2 separate regions of the Homo sapiens genome follow, and region 1 is linked to region 2. Evidence: promoter capture Hi-C in human tissues and cell types (Jung and others, 2019). All regions are on one chromosome and are shown on one strand. The core of a region is centred on a gene start or on the middle of the fragment in contact, and the rest is flanking DNA. Distances in the headings are between cores, read along the strand shown. Region 1 overlaps NUP160 (nucleoporin 160). Region 2 holds the start of PSMC3 (proteasome 26S subunit, ATPase 3).

Region 1 (3,778 bases), core at 1,129-3,628, 350 kb before region 2:
TATTTTCAACTGATAGTGGGTTTATTGGAAAACAAACCCACCATAAGTTGAGGAACATCGGTATAGGCGCATATATATATATATATATATATATATATATATATATATATATATATATATATATTTTTTTTTTTTTTTAACTGAGTTTTGCTCTGTTGCCCAAGCTGGAGTGCAGTGATGCAGCCTCCACTTACTCCCTCACTGCAGCCTCCGCCTCCCGGGTTCAAGTGATTCTCCTGCCTCAGCCTCCTGAGTAGCTGGGATTACAGGCACCTGCCACCACATCCAGCTAATTTTTTAATATTTTTGGTAGAGATGGGGCTTCACCATGTTGGCCAGGCTGGTCTCGGAACTCCTAACCTCAAGTGATCCACCCACCTCGGCCTCCCAAAGTGCTGGGATTACCCATGTGAGCCACCATGCCCGGCCTAGGCATTTCTTTTTATTATCATGCTATGTAAGGTGAGAATCTGAGAGTAAATTGAACTATATGTTAGTGTATTTAACCTTTACTATCTGTAGTTATACAACTAAATATTGACACTCTAGGAATCTCTAGTCTCCTGTTTATAAAATAGGAATTTCATCTTTCTCTATCAAAATAATATGGCATTAGTTAGGATTCAGTGGAGAGAGATAAACAAAATGGTATTGTGTGTGTGCCGGGACTGTGTTAAGTCTCTACAAGCATTTTTTTATTTAATCCTTATAGCAGCCTTATGAAGGAATGTTTTAATTTTCTATTTTTTAACCCATGAGGGAACAGGCTCAGAGGTTATCACAGGCTCATACAGATGGCAAATATAATAGAAGAGCCAGGTCTAAATAGGTGTAGTTAACTACAGCTTCAACCCTCATGAAATCAGCCAGGTGCAATAGCTCACACCTGTAATCCTAGCACTTTCGGAGGTCAAGGTGTGAGGATCGTTTAAACCCAGAGGTTAAGACCAGCCTTGGCAACATAGTGAGAACCTTTATCTACAAAAAATAGAAAAAAATTAGCTGGTCATGGTGGTGCGTGCCTATAGTCCCAGCTATGTGGGAAGCTGAGGTGGGAGGATCACATGAGCCCTGGAGGTTGAGGGTACAGTGAGCTATGATCATGCCACTACACTCCAGCCTGAGTGACAGAGTGAGACCCTGTCTGAAAAAAAAAAGAAAGTTGACATGAAATTATTTTTTATTTTTATTTTTTTATTTTTTCCAAGACGGAGTCTCGCTCTGTCGCCCAGGCTTGAGTGCAGTGGCATGATCTCGGCTCACTGTAACCTCCGCCTCCCGGGTTCAAGCAATTCTTCAGCCTCAGCCTCCCGAGCAGCTGGGACTACATCTGTGCCACCACACCTGGCTAATTTTTGTATTTTTAGTAGAGACGGGGTTTCACCATATTGGCCAGGCTGGTCTCGAACTCCTGACCTTGTGATCCGCCCACCTCGGCCTCCCAAAACGTTGGAATTACAGGCCCAGCCGACATGAATTTTTAAATATATTTAACCGAAAAAAATGACAAGTTTCCCAGTTGGAGAAAAGAGGGTTCCCATTGTGTGCATGCACATGTATACACACAGTTTCTTGTGGTTGGGGGAAAAAATGCATTTTATTTTGCCGGGCACAGTGGCTCACTTTCGGAGGCCAAGGCAGGTGGATCACTTGAGGCCAGGAGTTTGAGACCAGCCTGTCCAACATGGTGAAACCCCATCTCTACTAAAAATAAACATAAAAAAATTAGCTAGGCATGGTGGTGCACATCTGTAGTCCAGCTACTCAAGAGGCTGAGGCACAAGAATTGCTTGAGCCCAGGAGGCGGAGGTTGCAGTGAGCTGAGATTGTGCCACTGCACTCAGCCTGGGCGACAGAACAAGACCATCTCAAAAAAAAAAAAAAAAAGGGTATTTTATTCTACAGAGTCCTATGAAAGCAACTACCCAGAAGAAATGGTACACTTTGCAGACTGTTTTCAAATAAACATTTTCCTTTTAGTTTCCACTGTCCGCAACAGCCCCAATGGTGTGGCTTCCATACTCCTCTATTGATCAGCTTCTCCAAGCTCTGGGAGAGAACAGTGCCAACAGTCACAACATCGCAGTAAGTCAGCCCTTTCATGAGACGTCTTGTGTAAGCCCCTGCACTAGCAGTTACACCTTACAGCTTGATCTTCAGTTCTCCGGGATTAGAAAGGGAAGACAAAAGCCTATTTTTGGCCCTTAACAAACTGCCCAGTCCCTTTATAGATAAGGCAGAGGATCTAAGTAACAGGATCAAGAAAACATAATGAGGAACTGTGTAAGTGTTAATTATACAGAGACAAATGGCAAGCAGTCGGTCCATCCTTTAAAGCTTTTAATTTGGTAGGGCAGACCCTACAAGGTAAACAGGTACTTGAAATACAGCAATGATAGGCCGGGCGCAGTGGCTCACGCCTATAATCCCAGCACTTTGGAAGGCTGAGACGGGCAGATTACCTGAGAGGTCAGGAGTTCGAGATCAGCTTTGCCAACATGGTGAAATTCCATCTCTACTAAATATACCAAAACTAGCCAGGCATGGTGGCGGGCACCTGTAATCCCAGCTACTCGGGAGGCTGAGGCAGGAGAATCGCTTGAACCCAGGAGGCGGAGGTTCCAGTGAGCCAAGATTGCACCACCGCACTCCATCCTAGACAGCAGAGTGAGACTCCATTCCCCCACCCTGAAAAAGAAAGAAATACAGTGTGATAAATTATCACTGTCCTGAGGGAAGTTGGCATATATAACAACATTTCTCAGGAGTCATATATTCACCCTGCTTGCCTTAACATAAAAAACAATAGTGTTTCCTTGAGTCATTATAGTGATGGCTTATTTTGTTTACCAGTGAGATAGAGTGCCTCCTGAGCCTATCTAAAATATTAGTTCTATATTTCACTTGGCAGCTAATAACTAGTTATATCAGATGCAGCATTTCTGGTTCTGAGAAAAGAGTTAGTGATCCTTTTATTAGAAATACTGGTACGATTTCCATACTTAGAAAATTCATTCAGAAAATGAGACTGAAATGTTGTATATAACAGAGAGGCCTAGTTTTATCAGTAGAGTCACAGAGGAGACTCCTATAACAAATGGTGATTTTATGAAGCAGAGTGGCTAACATCTTTATAAGGTGGAATCTACTTGGTGAAGTCAAAGTTATTAATAACTTCAATATTTTTCCATTGTTGAGCTGTTATGTAATGTTTTCCTTCTTTTCTCTTATAGCTGTCCCAGAAAATACTTGACAAATTGGAGGACTACCAGCAAAAAGTTGATAAGGCAACACGGGATTTATTATATCGTCGGACCTTGTGATTTGGATTGTCACCTAGCCTTTGTAACCGCTTGGTGCCTCTTAGGACTTAAGACTACCCTACAGGAACCCTGTACTCAAGGCCGATTTTTGTAACTGTAAATGATGTGTACAACATTCAAGTCTGCATTCTGCACAAGATAGGAGGGCGGAAGAGTCAGAGGACCCTGTGCTTGCTGGTGGTGCTAACACAATTTCTGGTGTTCAACCTTGGTCTCAAATAGCTGCTTTTGTATATGATTCACGAGCTTTTTTAGAGTTTATATTTTTTTAAACTACCGAAGACATTCATTATCTGCAAATTAAGACTCACCTTCACTTTCCAAAATAGCTGAGGGTTGTTGGCTTGTTGTAGCTGACCACCAAAAGCAGTCACTGCAAATCTTTTAATTCTTCCCTATCACCTTTTGTATTTTAATGCAATTATTTTGGTCCAGAACTGACCTGTATTTTCTGT
Region 2 (3,738 bases), core at 674-3,173:
ACTCCGTCTCAAAAAAAAAAAAAAAAAAAAAAAGATGGCTCAGAAGAGCCTACCTAAAAGTTGGTTAAGGGGAGAATGTCTGCATCCCTCCTAGGCCCAGGCTGGAGGCTTTCTAAACATATTCGTATTTGTCAGGATCTCCAAAAGTAGGCCCCAGAATGGGACCCAACTGACCCAGGCATAGTGGGACCAGCACAGATTGGACAGTCTTTCCCCTCTGGGCTTCTTGGCTCCTATCGGGCAACTCAAAGTGAGAATTTGGGGTCAGCAGTCCTAGTGCTGCCAGTGACTCACTGAATAACCTCCAGCAAGGCACTTAACCTCTCTGAGCCTCCCTATGCTTATTTAAATTTGAGAATGGTAATTCAGTCTGTCCACAAGGCAGGCTTGTTGAGAGAATGGAATAAAGCACTGTTACTTGAGGAGACGCTTTGTCAGCCTGAGTGAGCAGCTGTACATGTTGTTATTTAAAGAAAAAAATTCTGCTTTCAACCGTGTTCCAAAAAAAACTACTGCAAAGGCTAGGTGTAGTGGTTCATGCCTATAGTACCAACACTTTAGGAGGCTGAGGCAGGAAGATCACTTACGCCCAGGAGTTTGAGACCAGCCTGGTCAACATGGTGAAACCTTGTCTCTACTAAAAATACAAAAATTAGTTGGGCGTGGTGGTGGGTGCCTGTAATCCCAGCTACTTGAGAGGCTGAGGCAGGAGAATCCATTGAACCCGGGAGGCGGAGGTTGCGGTAGGGAGAGACCGCGCCACTGCATTCCAGCCTGGGCGACAGAGCGAGACTCCGTCTCAAAAAACAAAAAACAAACAAGCAAACAAAAAAAAGGCAACGATTGCACAGATTTTCATCAGGTTAACAGAGTGTTTGTGATGGTTTGACTTGAAATATAAGCTATGTTGCTTACATGAAGTTCCCTTTAAAGGGGCTCCAGGGCTCACCTCAAAGGATAAGGAGAGATCATTTAAAATAGCCGACAAGGGTACAACGAATGAGTCTCCCATGATCCGGAGACCCGCTCTGCTCACTGAGATTACTAACCATGGTCAGAGAAAACAAACAATTGCAGATACGAGACATAATTTTTTTTGAGACGGAGTCTCGCTCTGTCGCCCAGGCTGGAGTGCAGTGGCGCGATCACGGCTCACTGCAAGCTCCGCCTCCGAGGTTCATGCCATTCTCCTGGCTCAGCCCGGAGTAGCTGGGACTACGGGCGCCCACCACCACGCCCGGCTAATTTTTTGTATATTTAGTAGAGACGGGGTTTCACCGTGTTAGCCAGGATGGTCTCGATCTCCTGACCTCGTGATCCGCCCGCCTCGGCCTCCCAAAGTGCTGGGATTACAGGCGTGAGCCACCGCGCCCGGCCCGAGTCATAATGTTTTTAATCGTAGAGGCTGATGGTCAATTGAGTTCTTCCCACGTGGACAATTCCGTGAAGCCTGCTCTGACGTTAGGAGCAGCAGCGATTTCTCTTTAAAGCTGGTTAATGATTCCCTCCCGTAACTCCGGGTGGCCAGCTTGTACTTAAATAATTGTAAAAATGCGGACTGAGGTGGCATGCCTTTTTGGCCCTTTGCACACGGCTGGCCTATGTCGTTTATTAATTGGGAGGCAGTGTCATTGTGTAAATCCCCTTATTCCTAGCGGGGTCACGGTCTGAGTTTGAACGCGCCCCTCCGCAAGCATCTGTCACGGGCCAGATTAAAGACTACATTTCCCAAAGGCCCTCGCGGATCCCACCCTTCTCCCTCCCTTTCCGGTTTTACACATAGGCCCCGCCCCCAACGCGCGTGTCGGCCAATAGCGGCCCCACCTCTCGCGCCCGGCAAAAATAGGACGCGGGCGGGAACGTTTCGGGGTCCGCGGGGGCGGGGCCTGTGGCCAGGGGTTGGTCTTTGGAATCGGAGAGGCAGATTCGCTGCTCCGCAGCACGGCCGGAGCTGGTCGGGTCAAGAGTCGGGATTTGTGGGGAGAGGTTTTCCACTGGTCAAGAGAAGGCTTTAAGAAAGACGGTATTAATCTCCCGTTGCGGCTCCCGCCTGGTCCCATCTTCTGCCCGCTCCTCCAGGAAATGAATCTGCTGCCGAATATTGAGAGTCCAGTGACTCGGCAGGAGAAGATGGCGACCGTGTGGGATGAGGCCGAGGTGGGCACCGGGCGAGCTGGCGGTCCGGGAACCGGGGCCCGCAGGGAGACGCCATTGACAAGAGGGAAGGAGGTGGCTGGGGGTCAAGGTCTGGCCCGATCCCGGGGACGGGGTTGTTTGGGATGTGGGCAGGGGTCCTGACTCCATCCTGGTTTTATGGGCGTGGAAACTGAGGCTGTGAGTGGGTTCGGAGAACGAGGGATGCTTGTCCTGAGTAAAAGTAAATATATAAATAAACAAATAATTTTTTACAGCAAGATGGAATTGGGGAGGAGGTGCTCAAGATGTCCACGGAGGAGATCATCCAGCGCACACGGCTGCTGGACAGTGAGATCAAGGTGGGCGCACAGCTCCTGTGCGGGCGATGGAGCCCCCACAGGACAGGCCCCGGCGATCCGAGTCGCCTCTCGTACTTCCTAATCGGGCACCCTGGGGGAGACATGGGGCTCGGGCTTCCCCCTCATATCAGGAAGAGAGGAAAGAAAACTAAGCCTTAAAAGGGACAAGAAGACAGGTAGGGGGTGGTGGGAGGCCTGGGCTGAGATGAGAAGTTATCAGATTGCCTTTCCCAGTGAGAACTGGGAATAATCCTCTCAAGAATCCTTCTTTTAGTAAAATGCCTATTTTACAGATGAGGAGACAGGCCCAGAGAGGTTTGTACTGCGATAAAGCACCCAGTTCTTACTATGAGGCAGAACCTAAAACCTATGTTTGCCTCTCTCGGAGGCCTGCTTTTATTCCAATACTACCACTATTTCACCAGGAGGTTTCCAAACTGGCCTCCTCTTTTGACTTCTGCAGGATGTGGACACAGTCAGACTCTGCCTTCAGAGAGCCTCAGAGCTGGATGAATGGATGCGGGAGGGTCCCCTGGGCACCCTGGACCTCACTAGTTACAGGGCTCTAGCATAAGCTGTGCCAGGGTTTATATTTGCTTCTCCTCCCCTCCTGATCTCAGATCATGAAGAGTGAAGTGTTGAGAGTCACCCATGAGCTCCAAGCCATGAAGGACAAGATAAAAGAGAACAGTGAGAAAATCAAAGTGAACAAGACCCTGCCGTACCTTGTCTCCAACGTCATCGAGGTGTGTGTGTATGTGGAGGGGAAGAGAGGGAGTCAGCAGGGAATGGGGACAGCCTGGGGTGGGGCCACTAGGGAAAGAGTGGGTGGAGGTATTGAGGCCAAACTGCATGTCAGAGCTACACCTCCTGGGGCACTTTCATGGGGAAGACGGGGCCTGCAAAGTCCTGGGAGGTCTCACGTGTCTCCTTTTCTGTTGGTTATGTCTCCTCCGGGGTAGATGAGCCCTGTGCAGAGGAGCAGCACCTACACAGAGATCAATCCCTGGGCTTAGCAGGGGCACCCACGTTTGGTGGGCTCAGGGCTATTGGAGGAGGGAGGTAAGGATGGCCAGCCCTGCAGGTATTAGGAACTGTCTTAGGAAGCACTGGGCCTTGGGGAGTTCAAGGAGCTGAGTATTTTTTCCTTCCCAGCTCCTGGATGTTGATCCTAATGACCAAGAGGAGGATGGTGCCAATATTGACCTGGACTCCCAGAGGAAGGGCAAGTGTGCTGTGATCA

What was found. The method cuts DNA at HindIII sites, captures the fragments that hold promoters and counts their contacts. A contact is called where the count stands out against the background at its distance.
Region 1: a contact is called between a fragment that was not itself captured here and the fragment with the promoter of PSMC3 in region 2, in 1 of the 25 tissues and cell types used here (spleen).

The regions. Positions count from the first base shown.
Region 1 is chr11:47,778,650-47,782,427 of GRCh38, reverse strand. It overlaps NUP160 (nucleoporin 160), which reads left to right. Exons shown (of 36, transcript NM_015231.3): 35 at 1,981-2,085; 36 at 3,234-3,778. The coding sequence ends at 3,323. Among named protein-coding and RNA genes, the nearest start is that of FNBP4, 13 kb to the right of the region's middle. The HindIII fragment of the contact is 4,077 bases long and covers 340-3,778 here.
Region 2 is chr11:47,424,624-47,428,361 of GRCh38, reverse strand. It overlaps PSMC3 (proteasome 26S subunit, ATPase 3), which reads left to right and starts at 1,923. Exons shown (of 12, transcript NM_002804.5): 1 at 1,923-2,157; 2 at 2,412-2,495; 3 at 3,116-3,241; 4 at 3,651-3,738. The coding sequence starts at 2,083. RefSeq lists silencers at 1,685-1,814, 2,085-2,296 and an enhancer at 1,915-2,114. The HindIII fragment of the contact is 16,812 bases long and covers 1-3,738 here.